2 separate regions of the Homo sapiens genome follow, and region 1 is linked to region 2. Evidence: promoter capture Hi-C in 16 types of primary human blood cells and fetal thymus (Javierre and others, 2016). All regions are on one chromosome and are shown on one strand. The core of a region is centred on a gene start or on the middle of the fragment in contact, and the rest is flanking DNA. Distances in the headings are between cores, read along the strand shown. Region 1 overlaps LINC00609 (long intergenic non-protein coding RNA 609). Region 2 holds the start of NKX2-8 (NK2 homeobox 8).

The links. Contacts are between HindIII fragments. The CHiCAGO score rates a contact against its expected background, and 5 or more counts as called.
Region 1: a contact is called between a fragment that was not itself captured here and the fragment with the promoter of NKX2-8 in region 2, in 3 of 17 cell types (M1 macrophages, megakaryocytes and M0 macrophages). The highest score is 7.6, in M1 macrophages.

The regions. Positions count from the first base shown.
Region 1 is chr14:36,093,819-36,100,140 of GRCh38, reverse strand. All of the region lies in intron 1 of LINC00609 (long intergenic non-protein coding RNA 609), which reads right to left. Among named protein-coding and RNA genes, the nearest start is that of LINC00609, 27 kb to the right of the region's middle. The HindIII fragment of the contact is 227 bases long and covers 3,454-3,680 here.
Region 2 is chr14:36,579,867-36,585,913 of GRCh38, reverse strand. NKX2-8 (NK2 homeobox 8) reads left to right here and starts at 3,300. Exons shown (of 2, transcript NM_014360.4): 1 at 3,300-3,681; 2 at 4,450-5,910. The coding sequence starts at 3,525. The coding sequence ends at 5,012. RefSeq lists enhancers at 3,909-4,719, 4,720-5,530. The HindIII fragment of the contact is 11,395 bases long and covers 1,160-6,047 here.

The sequences.
Region 1 (6,322 bases), core at 2,318-4,817, 490 kb after region 2:
AGAGAGTTACTAGAGTGGGAAAAAGCATTACATGATTGAGAAATTAAAAGAAGGTCAGTATGTCTGGCTTCAGTAGTAAGATGGGTTCATAGACAAGAACCAGATCATATGGGATTTTGTAAGGCACATTAAGGTATTTGTTATCCGTCTCAAAAGCAATGAGAAATCATTGAGTCTTGCATTTACTAACCATGGGATCGGGGCAATTTACCCTTTCTGTGACTTCTTTTATTTAAAAAAAATAAAAAGTTTATTCTTTTATTAAATAAAACAAATAACTTATATAGCTGTAGTGATGATTAAATGAGACGATATGTGTCTAGCTTTTGGCACAGTGCCAGTTACATAATAAACACCATTACATGTTGGCTTTTTTTTTTTTTTTTTTTTTTTGAGAGGGAGTCTTGCTCTGTTGCCCAGGCTGGAGTGCAGTGGTGCGATCTTGGGTCACTGCAACCTCCACCTTCCAGGTTCAAGCAATTCTCCTGCTTGGCCTCCTGAGTAGCTGGGACTACAGGTGCATGCTACCACACCCAGCTAATTTTTGTATTTTTAGTAGAAACGGGGTTTCACCATGTTAACTAGGCTGGTCTCGAACTCCTGACTTCAGGTGATCCACCCACGTCAGCCTCCCAAAGTGCTGGGATTACAGGCATGAGCCACCGCGCCTGGCCATGTTAGCTATTTTTATAAGAGGGCTATGCCTTTTCACACTCTCCTTGCTTATGAGCTAGTTTTGTATACCTTTTTCCAAGGACACCAATGATGTTTTCCTTCCATCCTTCTGTATTGAATATTCAGGGATCCACCTTCATGTTCTTTGATTCACAAAAGACCAGGAACCTTCCGTATTTGGGGAGGGAGGAAGTAAGAGAGAGAGGAGTCCAACTTATTTATGTTGGACAGTAACCAGCCAAAGTTTTTATACAGAGAGAGAGATGAGGTCTCACTATGTTGCCCAGGCTGATCCCGAACTCCTGAGCTCAAGTGATCCTCCTGCCTCAGCCTCCCAAAGTGCTGAGATTATAGATGTGAGCCACCACGCCTGGCCCCAGACAGAGTTTTGAAATACAGATGAGTGTCACAGCCAGTCATCTGGGGGGACCTACTGACTACTGTGAAAAGAAAGTGCTCACAATATGCCAGTAGGACGGACAATAAACACAGCTCTTGTTGAACGGTAAGGCGACGTTCTCTTAGAAGTAGACTGACTCTGAACATGGTATGCTCACCCCCAATCCCCGTCTCTCAAGCATCACAACCCTTCTATCTCATTTTATCCTCTCTGTTGCTTCTCCTCCCTCCCCCAGACTAAAAATCTCTTACAAGTATCAAGAGGCATATTAATTAGAATTATTAATGATTATTAATGCTAGCCACTGTAACCACAAAAATCTCAGTGGCTTCACATATCAAGGTTTTTTGGTTTTTTTTTTTTTGCTCTTTCACAGTACAGTCCCATATGGGTTATGTGGCTCTCTTGGGTGACTATCCTCCAAGCTCAGGGACCTAAACAGCTTTCATCTTGTGACTACACCATCTGGAGCATGTGGCTTCCAATGCTACCAGAAAATGGGAAGAGAAGGCTAGCAGTTGATGCAGGATGGTGTTTGTTTGTTTGTTTGTTTTTGAGATGGAGTCTTGCTCTGTCTTCCAGGCTGGAGTGCAGTGGTGCGATCCCTGCTCACTACAACCTCCGCCTCCCGGGTTCAAGCAATTCTCCTGCCTCAGCCTCCCGAGTAGCTGTGATTACAGGCACGTGCCAGCACGCCTGCTAATTTTTGCATTTTTAGTACAGAAGGGATTTCACCATGTTGGCCAGGCTGGTCTTGAACTCCTGACCTCAGGTGATCCACCCACCTCGGCCTCCTAAAGTGCTGGGATTACAGACATGAGCCACTATACTCAGCCAATGCAAGATGTGTTTAAGGATCAAGTCTGGAAATTATATCATCATTTTAACCTACATTTCATTTTCCAAATCATATCATTCCAGCCCTACCCACCTACAAGGAAGGTTAAAAAATGTAATCTTATGGGCCAGGTGTGGTGGCTCACACCTGTAATCCCAGCACTTTGGGAGGCCGAGGTGGGTGGATCATCTGAGGTGAGGAGTTCGAGACCAGCCTGGCCAACGTGATGAAACCCCATCTCTACTAAAAATATAAAAATTAGGGGTGTGCTGGCACATGCCTGTAATCCCAGCTACTGGAGAGGCTAAGGCAGGAGAATCGCTTGAACCCAGGAGGCAGAGGTTGCAGTGAGCTGAGATCGATCCACTGCGCTCCAGTCTGGGTGACAGAGCAAGACTCTGTCTCAAAAAAATAAAAAATTAAAAAAAATTTATCTTTCTGCATGGTGAGTAAAACACAGTGTAATGAACATTGAACATAGTCTCTGCCTGGTGGGGAGGAAGGCTGGCTCCTACCAAGGATGTTTTGTATATGCCATTTGTCTCTTTATTTCCAGCAAAGCACACTGGGAAAGTCACTAAACAGCCACACCTGTAGCTCACTCTTACCATTCCTTACCCATGACAGATGTTTCACCTCCATTTTAAAAGTGGGAAAATTAAGATTCAGAGAGCAACACAGAGTCAAAGGCAGGCCTACACATGTCTGAGGAACCGCAAGTCCTAAGAAGAAAAAGAACCCTAGCCTTCTCCATGAATGGCCATTGTCATTTTCAGAGATCTTTCTGTGTGACAGACTTGATGTCAACTTGATACTTGAATTCCATTTATCCAGTATTTATGGTTTGCCAGCTCTGTCTAAAACCTGTTGGCAACTACAGTTATACAACTGTACATAGGTGAAACATACATAGACTGATATAGTTTAGATAGTTGTCCCTGCCCTAATCTCATGTTAGATTGTAATCTCCGATTCTAGAGGTGGGGCCTGGTGGGAGCTGTTCAGATCACAGGGATGGATCCCTCATGGCTTGGTGCCATCTTCATGATAGTGAGTTCTCGCGAGATCTGATCATTTAAAAGCGTGTGGCTCCTCCCCACACCCCATCGCCTTTTGCTCTCTTTCTCTCTGTCACTTGCTCCTATTTTCACCATGTGAAGTGCTTGCTCCCACTTTGCCTTCCACCATGAGTAAAAGCTCCCTGAGGCCTCCCGAGAAGCCAAGCAGTGTTGGCGCCATGCTTGTACAGCCTGCAAAACTGTAAGCTAATTAAACCTCTTTTCTTTATAAATTACCCAGTGTCAGGTAGTTCTTCACAACAATGCAAGAACAACCTAACACATAGACCCTGCCTTCAAGGAATTAATAGTCTAATGGGAGAGACAACATTTAAAGAGCTAATGTTTAAAAAAGATTATTTTATCATTATTTAGCTGAAATATTTATTTCTATATTATAATAAGCCAAAAATATACAGAGAAACGCTTATCTCTAAGGCCTTCGATTTATTGAATATTCTTCAGGGCTCTTGGTAAAAGCTTCATGATAAGGAAATATCTTAAAATAGGAGTACACTTTTTTTAAAAAAAAAAAACCACCCATCTCTAATTGATATCTAGAATGCAAAGTTGAATTCTACATGACTAGGAGAACAAAGGAGAAGCTCCAGAGTCCCATTAGACATCTATAGAAGGGACGTGAGGGCCCAGGGCCAGCTGAGAACTCATCTGTGAATCTCGGCTTCTCTTCCTTTAAGAAAAGAAAGCTTATCATTGCTAAGTCAGTACCAAAAATGTAAGTTTTATTAAATTCTTCTAAGCTTTGAGTTCCACCAACCAGTGAAAGCATACAGCTGAAACCAAAGAAACTAAAATGCAAATGTCTGTAGGTGCTAGTTCCACAAAGTGTGTCTCTATCCCAGAACCATCAGCAGCATGTGGGAGCTTGTCACAACTGTATCATCTTGGACCCTGCCCAGGACTTACTGAATCAGAATTGCATTTTAACAAAAATCCCTTTGGTGATTCATAGGTACATTAAACTTTGAGAACCACTGGCATAAAAAAACTATGTCTCTATGGGAATTTTGGATAATTCTTCTAAGAACCTACAGAGATTTATAATCCCCAAACAGGTAGACTGTATTTTGCTTCAATATAGCATTTTGCTTTTGGTGTTTCTCTTCTATTATGAAATAGAATGAGAATTTCCTATACCAATAGACAATATGATTCAATTAAAGTTGGCTAAATTTTAGCATTTCTAAAAGCAAATGGCAAAATAAAAGAAAATATTTTAATTCATGCAAATAGAATCAAATAAAAGCAAGAATATAAACACTAATGAAAATAGAGGATAGTGCTTCCAGGCAGACATAGAAATTTGTGATCTCAAACACTGTATATATTTAAATAAATGTTATTTTTTTCCCTTTGATGGTCCTATTTTATTATTAAGGGCACAGACTTTTTAACAAATGCACAACTAATTAACCTTAAGTGTTCAAAATTCCATAGGGATTTGTGGGCGATGGCTGAAAGAGCCTTAAGTTGATAAAATGTTAATGTCTTAAAGCATCTTTCTCTATTGAAGCCATGTACTCAGACAGGATGATGAAAAGGAAAATAAAAGGGAAATGTTTTCAAAGAGAGATTCTTTTTCCTGGGAGAAGAGGGTGAGGGGAGAAGGGAATGGCCAGAAGTGTTGGAGGCCACCGGCCAACAATTTCCGATCCTTTTCATCACACCTCAGAAAGCAGCAGAGATTATGAAGTCGGTAGAGTAGATATTTCTATGGAGGCTTTTTACAACTTACTTCCACCGTCACATTGCCAGCTGAGTTCCTCTTGCTAACATGACACATTTTTTTTTTAATTAGAGCAATTTGTTTCATAGGATGAGCGGTACCTTTCTCAAGATCCCATTCCTGCTGTTTCTGAGCCTCTTTGCCTTGAGGGCCCTTCTGTACCAGTGAGCCTCCAGTAAGTCTTGCTTCGCAAAGAAGCAGAGTGCTGCATTTCAATACTACAGACTACTTCAAAATCATGTTTTCATTTCCCAGAAAGAGTTTTTTAAAATGCACTACACTTCAGTGGCTGTATCCTGCCAGAGCCCAGCACCAAGGAGCCAAGGAGCACCTAAACAAGCTCTAGAAGGAATTCACTTTCCTCCTTTTGTTGAAAAATAAAGGCAAGTCAAGCCGTGGGCCAGAGTGCGCTCTTGGAGAACACACAGAGTGATCCACATCAGGGAGGTTGTGTCTGGTTCTTTCAGAGGTCCCTGCCTTGCCCCAGCAGCAACTGCAGAAATGGCTAACCCCACCCCACTTTCCACAGCCAATAGGAGCAGAGCCAGGGGACAGCCGCTCTGAGAGCCCCCTATGCACAACTTCTGAAAGAAACCCCCAAATTTCACCCTATCTCCCCTATCTCTCCCACCCCTTTCACCTCTGCCCCAAGGGGATGCCTTAAAATCTTACTTAGGAATAGGCTCTATGGAAATTAAGCCTTACACCTTTAAATAACAAGAGAATGGTGAAATAAAATACTTTCATTCTAAAGAGTCTATAGTGCCTTCAGGTCTATTTTCTTCAATTGCCAGTAGAGATGTTACCATTTAACATTTAGTGGCAGGCAGCCCCGAAAGAAGAAAGCAAGGAGTAAGACAGATCTACATTTTAAATGAAAGAAGGGGCTACTTCAGATTCTCCTGGCTATTATGCCTGTTCGGTAACAGTTTATTTTAGATTCGTGCTTCTTTATTCACAGAGACAGAAATTTACAAAGCATACAGTATTAAAAATTAATCAATTTTTACAAAAGGATTTTCACAGATTTCTTTAAATAGAAAGTTTCTTTAGTAAATATAAACCTTTACAAAATTGTTGAGTATCAAGTAGCAGAGTATAATCTCCCAGCACTGGCAACGTCTAAATAAAATCAAATCTAATACAAAATTATAAAGATGTATGTTTTACTTCCAGGTATCCGATCAGCAAAAAGCTATTAAGCACCTACTATATGCCAGGGTTACTTAGATGCCAGAGAAACCAAATCTAGTAAGATACCCTCCTGCCTTCAAAGCATTCACAAGGTTATGTGGATTCCCAGCATCTCAAAGGCTGGTACTTCTGAGTGTTGCCAGGTCACCTGTATTGTGTCTACAGCTAGTTTTGAGGGAGAACCACAGCAGCCCAACACACCTGCTCTCTCCCTGGGATCCTTTTCTTCAGGCCTCTCCATCAACACTATAAGTAACGAGTTGAGACACTAGGATAAAGCCCACATGTCCTTTAGGAAAGGAAGTTAACCATTGCACTGCCAGTTCTCTTCACCTCTGGTGCCAGTTGTCTGCCATCTGTTTACCTCATTAGGAAGTTAAAAAGGAGAAAGGGGAAAATAAAAACATCCA
Region 2 (6,047 bases), core at 2,051-4,550:
AAACAACTACTTAGCTAATTAAATAATAATATTCACATGGTATGTTAAGTTGCAAAGAAGTTCAATTGTCCAGAACACCAAATAATATATGAAAATCTGGAAATAATGTCCAGTTAAATGCTTACTTGTGATTCTAAGAATCTCTTGGGAATTGGAGGCAATTCGTATATATCTCCAATGTGTAAAAAACTTAAGATTAGCTTGACTGTCTTTTCCTATTGACCCAATATCAAAATAATTTTCCCCTCCCATGTCTGTGAATTTATCTGATGTGAAAAGGCAATATAGAAAGTACCTTTCTCTAATTCTGGCTTTCCTGCATTTCTTCAGAAGGCACAGTTTATATTGAACAATTTCTTGGAGTCCCCCGGTTCTAGCTCTCAGAGATAATTCAGCTAAATCCGCGGAGCAGAGCTGAGAGGAAGGTTGGCCTATGGCAGAGGCACTTATGGCAGAGGAGGAGGGAATCCAAGATGAAGCAGGTAAGCTGCAGCCCTTTCTAGAACCAGGAGCTACAGGGTTTCCATGGGACATCTAAAATGCAGACCAAGGCCCAGGAACACTGTTTCCGAAGCCCGTGAACATGAAGCTAGAAGTAATATTTGGAGCGAATCCCAGAGCAAAGTCCTTCCCAGAGCACAAGTGCTAGATGGGGCCTGTATCTCTGCTTTGGAAGCCAAACACTAAGAGTAAAAGCAAATATTTGATGCTGAAGAGCTCTTAAGAGCTGAAGAGCGCCATTTACTTATTTCTACACGTCAGTGTGGGCTTAGGATGTTAAATAGATTAAAAGGCTAAGAGAGGTCAGTCACTCAAGGAAAGACTCTTCTTTTGCTTCTCCTGACTTGGTTCTCTTCCCTAAATTGTTATCCACCCCACCCTACTCCTGTGGAGGATCCTTGGGAAACTCAAAAGATGACACCTCCTCTCCTAGAACATCCTGGAGACGGAGTCAGTCCTGGGGCTAAGAATTCGAGAACCTGAGGGAGGAGGGAGTCTAAATATCCGGCTGGTAAATGCTACAATGAAGATAGGTTTAGAAAAATTCCTGAGATACAGAATCATAAAACTGGTAGGGTCCTTAGAAATTACCAAATCTATTCTCCTACTATCTTCTGTATCAGATTAATTTTAAAAAAAAAAAGGAAGGAAGGAAGCTTAGAGAAATGAGGTGGTTAGAGATAGGTAGGGGCAGAGCGAGGATGCGAACCGATTTCCAGGCCAGAGCTCCTTCTACCTTACACAATCTCATAGTTCAAGACCGAATTTGGGAATCAGTCTTAACACTTGCTTCCCCAGGACGGTCTTTGTCAGTGCCTCAGCTTCTCACTAGGGAGGTGGGCTGGCAGAGATTGCCAGGCCTCGGGCTCTGGCCAGAGATAAGTCCACGAGGCCTGGAGCCAGTCTGCGACCTGCCCACTCTCTAGACGCTGGGGGCTCGGGAGCTGAGGAGCGGTGCGCGGCGGGTTTCCAGACTCCGCTGTCCCCTGCCCACTCCAGGCTCCCGCCCCGGCCCCGTCTGCAGAGAGGACAGCCAAGTCATTTCAGTTTAATCTTATTTAAAAAGACATAACTAATAAATCTATTGCCAGGGCCGCGGAAAGACGGCCAGCAGAGTCGATCGTGCTCCCAATCCCATTGAACCCCATTGAAAACCATGACAACACCGGACAAGCTCCGATTTATCCCGGCGCGTTAAAGCGCATTGTGAGCAGACGTCAATCATGCATTATTCCGGACTGAACAAATGCAAAATCTTGACTGGAACAAATGCTTCCAACAGGTCCGGGGCGTCGAGCTCCATTTCCCCTTTGTCCGCGGCCTAGCAGTTGGCCTGTATTGGGGTTGCCTCCGCCCGACCACCCAGCGCGCGGTGCAGCTCCGGGCACCTCGGGCACGCTTGATAGGGAGGCTGCTGGGGAGGGTGCGCGGGGCTTGACAGGGCCGCCGCCGCCGCATCCGAGCCAGGTTCGAGTTCAGCCCGGGAGGAGCCAGGACTTCTGGTGCAGCCACCCAAGTACAGAGCCCTTCGCTACAATTTAGCAACTAAATATCCAAACTACTAGCTTCAGTAGGAGAGGCCTCTGAGAGGGCGTTCCTCTGTAGATTGAAGCGCGGCCAGAGCTAGGCCATGGCCCAACAAAATGTATCCACGGCGGCCTGTTCCCTGCGCCTCCTACATTGATCATTTTCTAGGGTGGAACTGTGGAAACTAGAAGATCCCAGAGAAACCCATGGCCGGTGGTATTTTCTGCCGGGTAGGCCCTGTCCTAATTCTCCCGATCGGTCCATTCCCGGACCAAGGCGGGCAGCCTCGTCAGGGTCTGCCATGCTGCGAGCGGGGAGCGTAGGCCATGGGCAGGCTCCTGGGCAAAGACCAAAGCCCAGGCAGTGAGAGTGCCGTTGAGGCTATGGGGCCAAGGCGCACAGGCGGCACCAGTTCATCTGGCGACTCCAAGGAGGCCTCAAAGCCCTCACAGGATGCCCTGAGAAGCGCCCCCGCCCAGGGGCTCTAAAGCGGGCCTGGACCCAAATTTGTGGAGCTCGGCCTCCGAGCTCCGAGATCGGCAGCGGCCGGGCGAAGCTGGGCCAAAGAGACAGGCACTGTAGACCTAAGTAGCTTGGCTACAAGCCTCTTCTGTTTTGCCGGCCTGTGGAGACGTGGAGCTGGGGCTCCGAATGTTGTCCCAGCCCTTCCTCAGCACCTCTGAGGCTGTTAGGGGGATGTATGGTGTGATCCGAGGCTCCCAGCGGCCGTTGAAACCCCTGGGCCAATGCTGGCAGGGCCAGGCTAATCTTTACGCCCTCCTGAAACTTGTCATCCTGAATCTTAGAGGGGCCCAACCAAAAAGAGAAAGGGAGCGCGCCAGAGTTTAACGCCGCTTTGTAAATCACTTTCTGGATAATTGCGGGAAACTACCACTCCAGCAAACAAGCTCGAAGAATAAAGCAAACAGGGAATAAATTCCTGGGTGCTAATAAACCCACCCCTGCCACCCCCACCCTTCCCGGCGCTCCCGCGGGGCCTGGCCTCAAGTCAGCCCAGGAGGAGGAGGAGGAAGCTGGGGCTGGGTCAGGCGGGTGGTGGCCACCGCTCGCCACCCAAGATGTTATTCACTGGTAACAATCCCCATTATCTGTCCCCACTTTGGGCTAATCAGACAGAATCGCTAATGCCAAATGCTGCTTCCTGCAGCCTCTGGGAGGTAACTGGGCGCCAAGGGGCGGGGTGCGGGGCGGGGTGCGGGGCGGGGCGGGGGCGGAGGTGGCACCTTCCGGGCTCGCCCCGGCTCTGGTCCAGTGCTCATTCAGGTACTTAACACCCTGGAGACCCGGACCTCGGCTTTCAAAGCGGCCTGGGTGGGAAGAGCTGTTTATATAAACAGAGATTCCGCTGTAAATGCGCTAATATCCCGGCTGCCAGCGCATGGCGAGCGCCTCCCACGCCCATCCGTAGGAGCGGCGTCCCGGCCGCCCCTCCGTTCCCAGCCTGCCCTGCCCCCGCCTCCTTCCCCTCCTCGGCCATGGCCACCTCTGGACGCCTGAGCTTCACCGTGCGCAGCCTTCTAGATTTACCCGAGCAGGACGCGCAACACCTGCCGAGGCGGGAGCCAGAACCACGCGCCCCCCAGCCCGACCCCTGCGCCGCCTGGCTGGATTCGGAGCGCGGCCACTACCCTTGTAAGTGCGTGGTGGATTGCGGTGCGGGGTGGGAGGTAGGAGGCGTGGGGCAGCAGAATCAAGGGCCCAGCCCACGAGGGGCCGGAAAGCCGAAATCCCAGCCCAGAGTCTAGATTTCCTCAGTCTTGGAAACGGGAGCCCTGTCCTCGAACCCCTAACGCATTCATCCCGGTCGGCACATCCTAAGAGCAGATCCCTGCCTGGCACTGGTGCTCCGAGATTTGGGGTTTCTGTGTCTGACGATTTCTAGAGGTCGGAATAATTGAAATTTAAAACGCGCCGCCACCTGCCGCCCCCACCCCACCCCCCGCCCCCTCTCCATGCCTGAAAACACGGCCACGATCTCCAGGCCTCCGTCTGGGATGGCCAGTGTTGGCGAGTTTACCCCCACCCCGTTCCCACTCAGGGCTCCGCAAACCTCGGCACACTGCAGTGCAGTCGACCTGGAGGAGGCCGGCGCTGGTGACCCAGCTTGTGATAAACTGGTCGGCCAGCGCAACTACCGGTGCGGACATGTTAAGAGGGCCCCGGGGTGGGTTTTTTCGGGGCACGATCTCAGGCCCGCTGATGACCGCTGTGGTATGAATGAGGTCACCGCATTCGGAGAGGTGGATGTCCAGATGTGGACTCAGGAAATGGCCTCATCCCGAAAGTCTCGGGCTAGTGGGCGTGCCCTCTGGCCAGTGCCTCCACGCCCGCGCCAGAAGGGCAGCAGGCCCTCGTAGGGTCCGGCGTCTCACCCACCCGTGTCTCCTTTGCTGTCCCTAGCCTCGGACGAGAGCAGCCTGGAGACCAGCCCGCCAGACTCGTCGCAGCGGCCGTCCGCTAGGCCCGCGTCTCCGGGCTCGGACGCCGAGAAAAGGAAGAAGCGGCGGGTGCTATTCTCCAAGGCGCAGACGCTGGAGTTGGAGCGGCGCTTCCGGCAGCAGCGGTACCTGTCTGCGCCCGAGCGCGAGCAGCTGGCGAGCCTGCTTCGCCTCACGCCCACGCAGGTCAAGATCTGGTTCCAGAATCATCGCTACAAGCTGAAGCGCGCTCGCGCTCCAGGGGCGGCGGAGTCGCCTGACCTGGCAGCATCCGCCGAGCTGCACGCCGCGCCCGGCCTGCTGCGTCGCGTGGTGGTGCCGGTGCTTGTTCGCGACGGGCAGCCGTGCGGCGGCGGCGGCGGTGGCGAGGTGGGAACCGCCGCGGCCCAGGAGAAGTGCGGCGCCCCTCCAGCCGCCGCCTGCCCTCTGCCGGGCTACCCTGCCTTCGGTCCCGGCTCGGCGCTTGGCCTCTTCCCCGCCTACCAGCACTTAGCATCCCCCGCCCTGGTCTCCTGGAACTGGTGAGGCCGCAGGGCGGCACCTGGGGCTACCCTCGACTTTGGAGCGCGCTCTGCGATTGGAGCAGGGCCGGAGCCGAACGCCTGGAACGCTCTCCGTCCGCCTCCCTGCAGCCCCATCTCCTTGGGCGCCAGGGTCCCTGGCGCGCCCTCATCAGCCGTCGCGCAAGCACACACGAGGGACGTGTGCCAGAGCCCCCTCCCTCACCTTCCCTCCACCGCCAGCCCCAGAGTTAGATTTTATGCTTGGGCCTTATTTGTATATTTTTAAATAGCGATTTGTATAGGAAGCAAGTTATTTTTTTAAAAAATAGAGTATTTTTCCTCGTAGTTCGAGAATAAAATGTGTGGGGTTGGGTCCCCTGCGCGCCTGCGGGGAACGTAGGCGGGAGTCGTGCCCCCCAGACCGGTGTTCGCATCGCTGGCTCGCCCCTTGACTGGCTAAGTGGGGCCCGGCCCCAGCTGGATCGAAGGGCGGGTTGCAGTCCCGACACGGCTTTAGGAAGATACCTGGGGGATGGAGGGGTGGTGATGTCAGGGTTGGGCGCGGGAAGAAAAGGAGAGGAGGAAGCTGAGGCAACTTTGGGATTCTTGTCAGCGGGAGGCGTCACTGGCCCCAGAGTGACTCCGACTCTCCGCTGGGCTCCCAGAGCTGCTGGCGTTTCGAATACCGAAAAGTCAACCCTGTGGACCACGACAGGGCAGAAGGAGTTTCTCCGGAGATGAGCCGGCGAGGCCAGGTGCGGGGCGCGCTGCACCGGAGCAGCCCAGGCCGGGCCGCAAGCTGTTTCCAGAGTGCAGGAGCCAAGTGCTCGGGGACCCTTTGAAAAGTGCCTGGGGACCTGAAGAGCACCGGGGAATTTGTAACCCCTATTTAAGCCTGCAAGTGCCTAAGTTAGCTGTGATTTCCTGTCTCCTCATGGCGCAGTACCTGGCCAGGGTGGGGAGGAGGACGTGAAGACATCAAAGGGTCGGGGGAACGACCGGCACAGGGCTTTTCCTCTGGGCAGATCCGGGAGGACGCGACTCCCAGCTGAGGGAG